Linked DNA regions of Homo sapiens: regions 1, 2 and 3 are each linked to region 4. Evidence: promoter capture Hi-C in 16 types of primary human blood cells and fetal thymus (Javierre and others, 2016). All regions are on one chromosome and are shown on one strand. The core of a region is centred on a gene start or on the middle of the fragment in contact, and the rest is flanking DNA. Distances in the headings are between cores, read along the strand shown. Region 1 has its middle 3.6 kb from the start of ZNF746. Region 2 has its middle 5.5 kb from the start of TRC-GCA9-3. Region 3 overlaps ZNF746 (zinc finger protein 746). Region 4 holds the start of ZNF282 (zinc finger protein 282).

Region 1 (3,560 bases), core at 310-2,809, 310 kb after region 4:
GACAGCCAAGTTAGGGTAATGATGACTTGCTCTGTCCTCCACTGAAGACAGGCATCTATTGCAGAGCATCTCTGGTGCTGGTTTTCCAGCCTCTATTTGTAAAAAGAACGAAGATAAACCTCCTTGGATTGATATATGAGGCTTCCAAAGCCTTTCCCTCCATTTTGGGCACAGGTGTCAAAAGCAGGCATGAGAGTTTCCACTCCTGTGCCTTTCCTCATGCTTTTCCCCTCTCCTCTTGCCCACCCGAAGTTCTCACACCTTTTCCAGACCAGCATATGCCCTAATTCTTCCAGTTAAGTCTCTCCATGCCAATCACGGCTGCAGCAAGCTCTGCATTGTCCCAACTCTAATAATTTTTATTCTCGGTGCCATTCATATGGCACTGAGAAAAAAATTACAATACAAGGTAGTAGTTCCTAACTCACCTCTTGGATTATAAGTTCCCTGAGAGCAGGGACTATATCTTATTTCTCTTGTCTCTCCTGCAGTGCCTAATACTGGGCAGGTTTAGGCAACATAAAGTAATGATTTAGTACAAGTCTTAATTGATTGCTCTGTGTGGTGTGATCAACTGTGGTCCAAAGAATCATCCCCTCCTCTGCTCTAATACTTCTGCAGCCCCTACCATCTCCACCTTCCTGCTGAGTATTCCTAGAAGAAAAATCATAAAGCATTTTCAACACACCCAGAAGGAGCCTGGAAGGGCTAGAGAACATGAGACCACATGTCAACTCAAGGTGTCAGGGAGGCAGGAAGTGTGTGGTTCATACTGCACATAGACTGTGTAGATGTAGGGACTATGGACCCATGCACCCCTATGAGTGCTTCCTATACTCCAGCAGGTACAGCAGAACAGGTGGACCTCTATTTTTCCAGCTGCTCCCTTAGGCCTGAGCTTTTCCCCTGGGACCAGGCACACAGCCTAAAAGTTCAGGCTTGGGGTTTTCAAAAAGACTGTGGTAATCATTGCTGCCCACTAAATATTTCCAGCTGGTTTCTCTTGAAGACCATGGCTGGATGGCACTTCCTGGTTTCTTCTGGCTGGGTTGGACCATGTGACAAGTTCTGGCTGATGTTTTTTCTTTCCCTCTACTATGGTAACCCAGCAATATTTGAGGAGGTGGGTGCTGTATTTGCCTGCATCCTGGAGGTGGGGGACATTGAGTAGACTCCCCAGCCATCCCATGATGAGCTACTTACAGCATGAACATGAAACTTTTTGTTGTAACATGGTTTGGGGGTTGCTTGTTCCACAGTTTAACCTAGCCTATCCTGACAGATACAAAGGCATGGTGAAAGTTGGCCAGGCATTGCAGCAGGCATCCTTGGGCTCCAGGTGGTGTCTGCTCGAGCTTAACTTCCCTTACATTGTCTGAGTGCTCTCACATTGAGCGTTACCCTGCAGCGGTTAGATGTGGTGAAGTGCTGGAGAACTTGCAGCTGGCCCTGGAGTCTCTCCCATGGAGCCAGTGCCAAGTTCCTGCCTCAAATCCCTCAGTGAAATTTGCAGATGCGGATGGTCAGGGCCATGGCTCTGAGAAGCTACCTCCTTTCCTTCTGCTGGGAGCTGGGAGACTCACAGTCCTCTGGGGTTGGCTGGCTGGAGGCCAGTGCCTCAAAAATATTCTATACCAGAGCCCTTGAGTACAGAGAAAAGTGAATGTATGTCCTGTGGGTCTGGACGCTGCCTGAAATGGCCCTTGGTGAGCCAGAAGGTGTGATAAATTGTCATACTTTAACAATCCATTAAATCTTGTCTCCTTTATAAAACTTCTGTGCTTGTTTTAATTTTAAAAGATTATTTTGATTTATTGACCAGAGTAAAAAATTTATTTGATGTTTCAAAACCCCTCTCTTGCTCCTGAAATGGGAACAATTCCCTCATCCGCCTCTCAGGGTGTGAGATGGGGGCTGCAGCTCACTTTGTCAGTGCCCCGCTGCTCAAACCTCTAGCGGGAGCATGTAGGCAGGCAGGCTGTGGGGCTTATCACAAGGACAGAGGGCTTTCTGTATCCTGGGGTTCTTGCCTTAGTGTGCCAGAAAAATTAGATCACGCGTGGGCTTGGGGGATGGGTGCAAGGCTTTTTATTAAGTGGTGGCAGCTCTCAGTGAGGTGGATGGAGAGGCCAGAAGGAGGATGGAGTGGGAAGGTGGCCTTTCCCTGGAGTCAGGCCACCCAGTGGCCGGGCCCTCCTCCGACTGGCCTCTGCTGAACTCCGTGTCGTCCCGTCATAGATGGCCTGCCGGCGTCTGCTGGTGTCTGCCCGTGTGTTCTTCTGCTGTTGAGTTCCTCTCGATGTCCAGCTGCTCGTGTCCGTGCCCACTAGGGTCTCAGGATGTTTAAAGGCACAGGATGGGGTGTGTGGCAGGCCAGGGTGGTCTTGGAAATGCCACATTTAGCCACAGAAACAGAAATACCTGTCCTCACCTAGGTCAGTGGGCACAGGCCTGAGGGTAGAGCCTTTGCCAGGGACCCTGCCTTTCTCTACCCAGCACTTTCCTGCCTCCCTCCTGTATCACTCCCACATCCCTCCTCACCCTGGACCTCCCTTTCAGGGGGTCCGTGCCTCCGTCTGAGAAGCATAGCTCCAGGCATCTCAGGTGTTGCTGAGTTTCCACCATGATGGCATCACCCTCTGCCAACCTGGAGGTAAGATCCTGATGTGGCATTAGAAAGCCAGGGGCAAGGTGGGCAAGTGGCAGATGTGTGGAGGAAGTTTCAGTGCCCTGGCATCCATGATTGCCTTTCAAGTTTTCTAGAAGCGTCCATAGCCTCAGTTATTCTGATATGGTGATGTTAAAACCTGCCTACACCTAGGGTGTTTATGACTGACAACAGCTTAGAGAGTGACCCGTCCCAGGGCCCTGGCATCTTCTCTGGGGTCAGAACTTTGAGCGACAGGAATGAACAACAGGGCATTCCAGACGCCCTCAGCAGAGTGCAAGTCTCTGCACCTGAGCTCTCCAGGGCAGGAGTGAGGTCACCTTGCGCCAGTGGAGGTGAGGTGGATGGTAAAAGAATATAGGAGGCCCTTCCATATTTGGAGCAAACTCCAAATATGGAAATATGGAAAAATCCAGACATAAGAAACAAGCATCAGAGTTTTGTTTTTAGATTCATTAAAAATTTTTAATAACTAAAGTTATTGAATTCTCCCATAACTAAAATCTCCACAGCTTTTGAAAATAGTGTTCTAGGTACAAAAATTAGATTTCTCAAGGAGTACTTACTGTGCAGAACATGGCCCACCCCAGCAATATTATTAATTATAATAGAAACAAGCTTATTACTCAGGTGCTGACTCATATTTACAAGAGATTTTGAAGTTTTATAGGTCTGACCTTTGAGTTGTCAATTTTTGAGGACCTCACAATAGTCTCTCATGGCTTTCAGAGTGGGGGAAGCCTGTCACATCAAAGCCTAGCCAGATGAAATGAAGAATATTTTATAGGGACACTGAGTCCTTTTGAGCTTGGCTAGGGACAAAACCCACTCAGTAGAAATTAGTCAACAAGTCTATACTGAGTACTTACTGGGTCCTCAGCCAGATTATATA
Region 2 (3,612 bases), core at 1,019-3,518, 440 kb after region 4:
TGGTTTTATACATTTTAGGGAGACATGAGACATCAGTCAATATGTGTAAGATGTACATTGGTTAGTTCTGGAAATGTGGGACAACTTGAGGTGAAGGCAGGACAACTGAAAGCAAGGAGGGGGCTTCCAGGTCACAGGTATATAAGAGACAAATGGTTGCATTCTTTTGAGTTTCTGATGAGCCTCTCCAAAGGAGGCAATCAGATATGCACTTATCTCAGTGAGCAGAGGGGTGACTTTGAATAAAATGGGAGGCAGCTTTGCCCTAAGCAGTTCCCAGCTTGACTTTTCCCTTCAGGTTAGTGATTTGGGGGCCCCAAGATTTATTTTCCTTTCACATTTAAGTGTACAGTACTTGAAACTGGACCTGGGGCTGGGTGCGTTGGCTCACACCTGTAATCCCAGCACTTTGGGAAGCCAAGGTGGGCGGATCACGAGGTCAAGAGTTCGAGACCAGCCTGGACAACATGGTGAAACCCCATCTCTACTAAGAATACAAAAATTAGCCGGGCGTGGTGGCACGTGCCTGTAATGCCAGGTACCGTGGAGGCTGAGCAGGAGCATCTCTTGAATCTGGGAGGCAGAGGTTGCAGTGAGGTGGAGGTTGCAGTGAACCAAGATTGCGCCATTGCACTCCAGCCTGGGCAACAGAGCGTGACTCCGTCTTGGAGAGAAAAAAAACAAACAAACAAAAACTGGACCAGAACAGCATCTTCCAGGAACAAAGGCTGTTTCAGCATTTCCTAGTTGTCTTAATTTGTCCCCTTTTTCATCCAGGCATTCCCCCTGGGATGGGGTGGTATTGGTCTTCTAATTCCAAACAAACCACGAGGATTTATAGCTCAGTGAGTGAGCCCATATAAGGCCAAGAGAGTCTGCAGAGGATGAAATGTCAACAGGTTAAAATATAAGTAAAGTTCCATGTTGTGTTTAAGTTTTGTAACTATCAAAAGCAATTTTATGTCATATTTAAGCTTTAAAAGCAAACTTCTGCAGAAGGGATTATTGAATTATATCAACCATCTCAAAAGCTAAAGGATGTGATGGCATTCTATGCTTTGGAGAACAAACAGCTTTTTTGGTACAAAATGTCAAAATTCATGGAGGTTCAGCTATACAGCATAGAATTCAGAAGCACAATTCATGATTTTTAGTATCCCTTACACTAATCACCTTTTATGAATCTTTTTCAGAACTACCTAAAATATGTTTATTAATTCTTCTGATTTATATGAACAACAGAAGTTTCTACTTTAGATAGGTTAAAAAGAGGTTCTTGTAATAAAACTATGTGACAGCAAGAAAGTCTTACTATCTTTACACTGAATGGCAGGAAAACACAACAGAGAAGCAGGCATTGAAGACAGAGCCTGGTCAAGTGTAGTGTCACTTGAGGCTCTGCCTAATTTGACCATTTAGCAAATGGTGCTTTGCTCTACTCCCCTGAGTTGAAAATATTCTGTATCCTGTGACCTTTCTTTTTAGTATAAGATGTAGGAGCCTGAATAACAGAACTTCTTTTATCTTTGGTGACGTGCTTTATAATTTTCTTTTCCTTAAAGCAGATTCCTTTTGTTAACAAAATATTCGAATTTTTTATTTAGTACTTTTTTTTTCCTCCAAAAAGTGGCATTGGTAACTCAAACAAGAAATGCTAGAGGGGATGGACACCCCAATCCCCATGATGAGCTTATTTCGCATCGCATGCCTCTTCCAAAACAGCTCATGTGCCCCGTAAATATATATACCACTTTGTACTCACAAAAGCTTACATTTTTTAAGAAGTGGCTTTTGCTGTTCCAGTTTCACACTTAGAGCTTTGGCCTAGAACTTGGGTACTTGCCCCTTTCCCGTCCCTGCCCTCCAATGCCTTCTGATAGTGAAAATGGTCTCTTGGGGCAGCCTCCTTCCTGTATCCCCATTACTGTTTTAGCTCCTCCACCCAAGCCCGCCAGCCCTCCAGCTACTCTATAAACAGTCTCCTTCCTCCTTAACCTTGCCCTGGGAGTCTGCCTTTTTATCCCTCCTTGTACATCTGAAGGCCAGCTTTCCCGTGAAGCCATCCCTCCCCTTCAACCTCCAGAACTGAGAGGGTGGGGTCACCTTCTCAGCCTCATTCTCCATGTTGCCCCCAAACCCCAGCTCCTCCACCATCCCTCCCTGCTTCTCTCTCAAAGCCATCTCCTTTCACCACGCTCTCCTCTCCACATTCATGTCTTCTCCACAAACCTAGTGGAAATTTTTAGAACTAGGCTAACAATCGTATTTTCCTCACCTCCTCCTGCTTTCATTCTCGGGAATGTCAAACTCCAAGGTAATGTGCTTCCAATGCTAAGGCCTCCCAAGATTTCCATCTTCCTGGCTCTAGGAATGTTCACAAACTCCGTTCACTGCGGCCTTCAAGGTGTGTGGTGAGGCAGAGATTCAGAGTTTTCCACCAGTGTCTTCTACCCTGCCTTTTGGTTATCAGCTGAGCACATGGCTTCCCAGAAGAAAAACTGCATTTCCCAGACCCCCTTGGAGCTGTGAGGCCATAGGCATAAGGCTGGTCAATGAGATGCAGGTGAAAGTGATGGGTGTTCTTATATGGAGAGGCTTGTCTTTCCTCCTTCCTACTGGCTGGGAGGTCGATGAGATGCTAATGTGGGTGATGGCATGCTGGAATGAAAGCCAAGCCAGCCAGACAGCCACAAAGAAGAAATCGGGTTCTTGACCCTATGGAAAGCCATGCCTGGACCACCTAGCTGTGGACTTTTATGTGGGAGAAAAGGAAGCTTCTGGTTTGTTTGCTTGTTTTTGTTTTGCTTCCATCCTTTGTTATTTTGGGTGTTCAGCATTCATAGCCAAACCTGATCATCACTTAAACTATTCCCTTTCAAGATCTTAGAATCAGAAAAGTCCTTTTATGACACGTTTTCTGATGTTTACATGTTCTTACTGTTACCAAAAATGTTTCATTATCCTCATTTTGACCTTAATCTTGTCTACCTCTCTCTGTTCCCATGACCGCAGGGCCACCTTGGGGCTCAGCTATCTGCCTGCCCATTATTGATCCCATGTTTGGCCTCTCAGTCATGATTCCAGCTCCTTTGAGAGCTTGGTCTGTGGTCTATCTACCTCTCTCATGAGCCCTTCTGCTTCCGCGGATACACACGCCTTTGGCCTTTCCCACCTTTGCTCTGGGGAAGCCAGTCTTTGATGGAGTAAATTGTAGAGCCAGGCAAATGGTCCCACTGCAAATCTACACCAGTTTGACCTCAACCAGTGCCTCTCTCTAATGAGCAATGATTCTATTCCTTTCTAATTCACTTCTTCTCCATTTCCCACAGTGCCTGATTCACACTTTGCCCTTCTTCCCAAGTAATGATTCCCACCCTACCTCCTTTATTCTCTTTGGAAGACTTTGTTTTCTATCTGACTGAGAAGACCAAGGCCATGGAGGCCCCCCAGCATCCTCTGCTCTGCATCTTCACCTTCTCCTCATCCCCTCCAGGCTAAGAGGAAAAGCCTGCCTGCTCCTCTCTAGAGCACATCCTGTGTTCTTTATCCACCCTTTGGCTTTCCCTGGGATCTCCTTCCATTAATATATCCTCTCTTTTTTATTGACACATT
Region 3 (3,630 bases), core at 1,063-3,562, 290 kb after region 4:
CAGGTGCATGCCTCTAGGCCCAGCTAATTTTTATGTATTTTAGTAGAGATGGAGTTTCACTGTGTTGCCCAGGCTGGTCTTGAACTCCTGAGCTCAGGCAATCTGCCAGCCTCGGCCTCCCCAAGTGCTAGGATTACAGGCGTGAGCTACCGCGCCTGGCTAATAACTGAAATTTTAAAATCCAATGTGTAGGTTAAACAACAGAATGGAAATGATTGAATGGTGAATAGTGAACTAACTAGAAGATAGAAGAAATTATTCCAACCTTAACATAGAGACTGAGCTAAAAATATAAAGAGGGGTTCGAAGTTATAAAGGATAATATGAAAAAGTTCCAGAATAAAAGGTTAGAAAGGGGGCAAGGCAAAATTCAAAGAGGGAAGATAACACATTTTCCCAAATTGGTGAAACATTTCAGTGATTAAAGCAGGATAAAAGAAAATAAATCCACATCTAGACACATTGTATTAAAACTGCAGATCACCCAAGAGACCTAAAAGCAGGGAAAGAAAAAATGCAGATCATCCACAAAGGAATCCTGATTGGACTGATGGCAGATTCTCAATAGCAACAACAAAAGCCAGAAAAAAGGGGCAAATTATCTTCAAAAGCTAAGAGAAAATAACACTCAAGCTAAAATTATGTCTTTCCACTACAGTTGTCCCTTGGTGTCAGTGGGGGATTGGTTCTAGGGCACCCCATGGATACCAAAATCCCACAATACTCAAGTCCCTTGTATAAATTGGTGTAGTATTTGCATATAACCCACACACATCCTCCTGTATACTTTAAATCACCTCTAGATTACTTATAATACCTAATACGACGTAAATGCTATGTAGATAGTTGCTACACTGTATTGTTCAGAGAATAATGACAAGAAAAAAGTCTGTATATGTTTAGTAGACACCTTTTTTCCTGAATATTTCAAATGTGCAGTTACCTGAATCCACAAATGTGGAATACATAAATACAGAGGACTCACTGTATAGGGATGAAATAAAGATATTTTCACACATATAAACACATATAAACTCATATACACACACAAACTGAGGGCTCATTACCATCAGACCCACAAAAAATAACTTCTAAAGGAAGAAAAAATTTCTAAAGATTCCTCTATAACAATAGAAATAGAATACATAACTGTCAAATTAATTTAAAATAACAATAGTTTGAAAAGGAAAATACCTAAATGAATAATTCCCAAAGGAGAGGCAGGAAAAATACAGAAAAGGCAGAACTAAAGATTAACAGCACAATTTAAGATGGTAAAAAGAATCCAAATAAACTAATAACCATAATCAATGTAAATGGTCTAGACCAGAGCTAAGAAGAAAAAAGAATGTGAACCACATATCTAATTTTAAGTACTCTGGTAGTCATGTTAAAAAAGTAAGAACAGGTGAAATAAATGTTAACAGTACATTTTATTTAGCCCAAGATATAAAAAATGTTACTTCAACGTATAATCAATATAAAATGATTTATATTATTTTATACATGCATATTTTGTACTCACGGCTTGTTTTTGTACACGGTTTTTGAAATACGGTATGTATTTTATCCTTACAGCACATTTCAAGTGCTCAGTAGCTACAGGTGGATAGTGGCTACTGTTTGGATATTTAAAAGGTAAAGGTAAAGATTTTCAGACTAAAACCAAACAAATCCCCCAGCTATCTGCTGTTTACAAGAGACATACCTAAACAGAAGGACGCAGAAAGCAATGTAAAAGAATGAAAGATGTACTAAGCCAGAACAATGTAAAGAAATGATGTAGCTATACCATATCACATGAAATAAACTTTGAAAGTAAAAATATTCATAGAAATAAAAAGAATTACTGCATAATAGTAAACTAACCAGGAAGATAAAGTAATTCTAAGGTTTTTTTTTTTTTTTGAGATGGAGCCTTGCTCTGCTGCACTGGCTGGAGTGCAATGGTGCAATCTCGGCTCACTACAACCTCCACTTGCCAGGTTAAAGCAGTTCTCCTGCCTCAGCCTCCCGAGTAGCTGGGATTACAGATGTGTGCCACCACGCCTGGCTATTTTTTATATCTTTAGTAGAGACAGAGTTTTACCATGTTGGCCAGGCTGGCCTCAAACTCCTGACCTCAGGTGATCCACTCGTCTCAGCCTCCCAAAGTGTTAGGATTACAGGCGTGAGCCACTACACCCAGCCAATAACTCTAATTTTTTAAGCTTATCATATAGCTTCAAAATAATAAAGCAAAACTGATAAAACTCTAGGGAGAAATGAACAAATCCATCTTTACAGTAGGGGATTTTGATATATCTCTCTGTAATTGATAAATCTAGCCAACTAAAGGTTATATAAAATTTGAGCAACTCTACTAACAAACCTGATTAAAGGGACCTAAGCAGATTCCAAACACAGAGAAAACACAAGCTTTTTAAGCTACAGAGCGTTAAGGAAAAATGAACACTTTCTAGGTCATAAAACAGACTTCAGCAAAATTTAAACGACTAGTATTTTACACACTGCATTTTCTAGCTACAACACAATTAAGTTTGAAATCAATAACTCCCATACATACTAAAATTTTAAAATATACCGCTTTCTAAATAATCTGAGTCTAAGAAAAAAATCACAATGAAAATTAGAAGGTATCTGGAACCCAATATTAATGAAAATATTATCTATCAAAATGTATGGGCTACAGCTACAATGGTACTTAGAGGAAATTTTATAGCCTTGTATGTTTATATTAAAAAAGATAACACAGGGGCTGGGCGCAGTGGCTCACACCTGTAATCCTAGCACTTTGGGAAGCTGAGGTGGATCACGAGGTCAGGAGATCGAGATGATCCTGGCCAACATGGTGAAACCCCATCCCTACTAAAAATACAAAAATTAGCTGGGTGTGGTGGCATGTGCCTGTAGTCCCAGCTACTCGGGAGGCTGAGGCAGGAGAATGGCTTGAACCCGGCAAGTGGAGATTGCAGTAAGCCAAGATCGCGCCACTGTACTCCAGCCTGGCGACAGAGCGAGACTCCGTGTAAAAAAATAAAAAAAAAAACAAAAACACAGGTCAAAAATTAATGGGTTAAGCGTCAATGCAAGACATTAGAAAATAAATAACATTTAAGAACCTTTTCAAAAGTAGAAGGAAATAATACATATAAGAGTATCATAAATTAATAAAAGAGAAGACAAAGATAGAATATAGTTAGTCAAAGTTGGTTATTTGAAGAGACTGTTAAACCAATTCACCTCTAGCAAGGTTATCAAGAGAATGGGAGAGACAGCACCAATAACCAATTGGAAGAATGAAAAAGGGAACATAATGATAAATGCAGCAGAGATTTAAAAGATATAGAGGATATTATGAATGTTATTCCAAGTAATTTGAAAACTCTGGGGAAATGGACAAATTCCTAGGAAAATTTCAACCTGCCAAAACTAAAGAAGAAATAGAAAACCTGAATAGTCCTGTAACTAAAATAAATTACATCGGTAGTAAAAAATCTTCCCCACAAAGAAAACTTAAGGCTCAGGTGGCCCCACTGGTGTTTTCTACTAAATGTTGAAGGAATAGATAATTCCAACATTACAAAAACTCTCTGAAAATTAAAAACAGAATGAATACATCATAGCTCA
Region 4 (3,373 bases), core at 63-2,562:
TCTTGCTCTGTTGCCCAGGCTAGAGTGCAGTGGCGCGATCTCGGCTCACTGCAAGCTCCGCCTCCCGGGTTCACGCCATTCTCCTGCCTCAGCCTCCCGAGTAGCTGGGACTACAGGCGCCGCCACCACACCCGGCTAATTTTTTTGTATTTTTAGTAGAGACGGGGTTTCACCGTGTTAGCCAGGATGGTCTCGATCTCCTGACCTCGTGATCCGCCCGTCTTGGCCTCCCAAAGTGCTGGGATTACAGGCGTGAGCCACGGCGCCCGGCCTTATTATTATTTTTTGAGATGGAGTCTCGCTCTGTTGCCCAGGCTGGAGCGCACTGGCGCGATCTTGGCTCACTGCAACCTCCGCTTCGGAGGTTGAAGCGATTCTCCTGCCTCAGCCTCCCGAGTAGCTAGGATTATAGGCCCACGCCACCACGCCCGGCTAATCTTTTTGTATTTTTAGTAGAGACGGGGTTTCACCATGTTGGCCAGGCTGGTCTCGAACTCCTGACCTCAGGTGATCCGCCTGCCTCAGCCTCCCAATGTGCTGGGATTACAGATGTGAGCCACCGCGCTCGGCTAATTTTTATTTTTTATAGGGATGGGGTGTCAATATGTTGCTCAGTCTGGTCTCGAACTCCTGGGCTCAAGTCGTTCTCCTGCTTCAGCCTCTCAGAGTGCTGAGATTACAGGTGTGAGGCACCACGCCCAACCCAATTTCAAGGTGTTTGAAGAGGCCACTGTTAAAATGCACTGCACCTTACCTGGGAGAAAGAGCTCAGCCCTCTTTTGACACCTTAACATGAATCACTTCTCTATCATCCATAACAGTGCAAAAGCTCTGGGATGGGTCCAGGTAAATCTGGATTGGGAAGAAGGGGAGTGGGAGGTAAAGTCTGCAAAGGAGTGAGGGAAGGCAGAAGGCCAGAAGAAAGTGTCTGAAGACAGAATTACTCCTGCAAAATTTTCACAAGGGTCAGGCACTATTTTCTCCCGGGATGCCCAATACATTTGCAGAATTAACAGTAATCAAGCCCACAGTCCAGGTCCTCGCATAGTTTGGGCCTTTAAAGTCGGCCATCCCAGATTGAGGGGGCCTGACCCCTGGGCGAGGCCGCCGCCTCTCAGTTTTGGGGCGGTGGCGACCCCAGTCCGGGAGTGGCCCCGGTAGGTCCCCGCAGGCGGGCAGGAGCTCCGAGGCCATTGGCTGGCGCGCGGGCTGCCAAGGGGCGGGGAGCGCCGCCGAAGGGGACTGTTTGCTCCTACGGGCTGTAGATGGAGCTGTCCGGCCCCGGAGAGGGGGAAGGCGCCTGGAAAACGTTCTTCTTCTCCCTGGCCGACCCGAGCGGGGAACAGCACTCCCAGGATGCAGTTTGTGTCAACACGGCCGCAGCCTCAGCAGCTGGGCATCCAGGGCCTGGGGCTGGACAGCGGGAGCTGGAGCTGGGCCCAGGCTCTGCCCCCGGAGGAGGTCTGCCACCAGGAGCCGGCGCTGCGCGGGGAAATGGCCGAGGGAATGCCGCCCATGCAGGTGGGAGAACCCCGCCGGCGCCATGGCCGCGCTGCCGTGGGGGCGGGGCGCGGGCTGGGCCGCGGGACCGGGCCGCGCCGTCCTCCGGTAGCCTTGCGGCGCCCTCCCAGCTTCCGCGCCCAGGCGAGGCCCGAGGCGGGCGGGGCACGGCCGGGCTGCGCGGCGGGCAGGACGGAGCGGGCCCGACGCAGGCCCGGAAGGGCAGGCCTGGCCCGCGCGGCGCGGAGCAGCGGTCGCCGGGCCCAAGTGCGGAGGCCCCGCGGGGCGGGGGCCGGGACCGTCCTTTCCGGGACCTGGCAGAGCTCTGACCCTGTGGCTGAGCCCCGGCTTGGGGCTCCCTTTGCGCCCGGCCGGCGGAGAGCTTCGCGGGCAGTGCTTCCGCCCGGCCGCAGAAGTGAATGCCTCGTTCGTGTTTACACGGTGGCCAATTTGACGGGGATATTTTTTAAATGTTTGATTACCACCTTTCACCAAGTGTAATGAGTAATTCACTCTCCCCCTGCACCGGGTGTGATCCAGGGAGGGGGCCATGGAGAGATGACTTCGGGGTCTTTCCTGCGGTTGACAAACTTGGCCGCATGTTGGAATGGCCTGGGCAGCTTTTAAGACTCCTGAGCCCTTGCCTGGTCCCAGAGCTCAGGGTCTCTGACGGGTGAGAGTAGCACCAGGCATTTCTTCAGGCTCCATCGATGATCTCCGTGGGCAGAACCGGTGCTCCAGAATTGGGTATAAAACCAGGGGAGGTGGATCCTCAGAGAGGCCTGAAAGCTTGCCCAGGGAAGACTCTCTGGGCCCACCCTGGGGCTGGGCTGCTCAGGGGCCCCTCTGCTCACCACGCGGCTCTCAGCCAGGTGCTAACGAGGGAGCCAGGGGCTGCTGTGTTGTGTTTGATCATTTTCAGGGTTAGGGCTTCAAACCCGAGAAAACTAAACTGGGCCCCGGGACTTTCTTAACTTCTACTGTGGACTCTGTCCCCTTCTGTGGGCTAGGGCGGAGTGGAGCCTCTGTGATGGAGGAATGGGTGCTTTTGATGGAAACACCAGCACCTCTTACTGGTATTACAGGGCCTGGCGATCCTAGGGCCCTGCTCTCCACTCTGCTGTGTCCCGGAGCAGGTCTGCCCCGGAGCAGGGCTGCTCTTGAGTCAGAGAGTGGGGCTGGTCTGCCCAGATCGCCCCAAGCAGCAGGCCTCCCCTTTTCCTAGCCTGAGGGCCTTTTCTGCAGCCATCGGGAGGACAGAAAATGACACCTCTTCCTGTCCCAGGTGTGAAGGAGAGTCGGCTGCCAGCCCATGTGGTCCAGTGAGCCCTGAGTCTGACACCAGGTCCCAGATGACCAGTGAACTGTCACCAGCCTCAACCAGCCCCCCTTAGCCATAGGTCTCAGCTCTCAATTGCACCAATTAGTTTACCCTTCTGGGGTGAGGGCTCTGTGCTGGAAGATAAAAGGGGGAGTCCCCAGGCCATGGGGCACCCCTTCCCCAGGAAGCAAGGAGGGGTCCCAGAGGAGTTTTTCTTTCTCTTGGTCCTCTTGGGTGTGAGGGACATCCCCTCTTCACCTCTAATGAGTGACCTTTTTTAGTGAACCTATTTTCAATTTGGAAAATGTTTATGAAACAGTAGTTGTATATGGGGGGAAGCTGCTTTTCTGCCCTAGCTTGGGCTCTCCGGTCTTTTCCTTGACTGCAGCCCTGGTAGGAATGTGGTGGGTTTTTTTGTTGTTTATTTGTTTGTTCCGAGACGGAGTCTTGCTCTGTTGCCCAGGCTGGAGTGCAGTGGCACCATCTCGGCTCACTGCAACCTCCGCTTCCCAGGTTCAAGCGATTCTCCTGCCTCAGCCTCCCAAGTAGCTG

The links. Contacts are between HindIII fragments. The CHiCAGO score rates a contact against its expected background, and 5 or more counts as called.
Region 1: a fragment that was not itself captured here is called in contact with the fragment with the promoter of ZNF282 in region 4 in 9 of 17 cell types (neutrophils, naive CD8 T cells, non-activated CD4 T cells and 6 more); the score reaches 11.3 in neutrophils.
Region 2: a fragment that was not itself captured here is called in contact with the fragment with the promoter of ZNF282 in region 4 in 2 of 17 cell types (fetal thymus and neutrophils); the score reaches 5.6 in fetal thymus.
Region 3: a fragment that was not itself captured here is called in contact with the fragment with the promoter of ZNF282 in region 4 in 3 of 17 cell types (non-activated CD4 T cells, total CD4 T cells and naive CD4 T cells); the score reaches 5.5 in non-activated CD4 T cells.

What each region holds. Positions count from the first base shown.
Region 1 is chr7:149,499,644-149,503,203 of GRCh38, forward strand. No RefSeq gene overlaps it. Among named protein-coding and RNA genes, the nearest start is that of ZNF746, 3.6 kb to the left of the region's middle. The HindIII fragment of the contact is 3,449 bases long and covers 1-3,284 here.
Region 2 is chr7:149,628,341-149,631,952 of GRCh38, forward strand. No RefSeq gene overlaps it. Among named protein-coding and RNA genes, the nearest start is that of TRC-GCA9-3, 5.5 kb to the right of the region's middle. The HindIII fragment of the contact is 1,007 bases long and covers 1,766-2,772 here.
Region 3 is chr7:149,480,575-149,484,204 of GRCh38, forward strand. All of the region lies in intron 4 of ZNF746 (zinc finger protein 746), which reads right to left. Among named protein-coding and RNA genes, the nearest start is that of ZNF746, 15 kb to the right of the region's middle. The HindIII fragment of the contact is 208 bases long and covers 2,209-2,416 here.
Region 4 is chr7:149,194,234-149,197,606 of GRCh38, forward strand. It overlaps ZNF282 (zinc finger protein 282), which reads left to right and starts at 1,313. Exons shown (of 8, transcript NM_003575.4): 1 at 1,313-1,521. The coding sequence starts at 1,357. RefSeq lists silencers at 981-1,270, 1,089-1,410, 1,531-1,890 and an enhancer at 2,331-2,380. The HindIII fragment of the contact is 5,667 bases long and covers 1-2,287 here.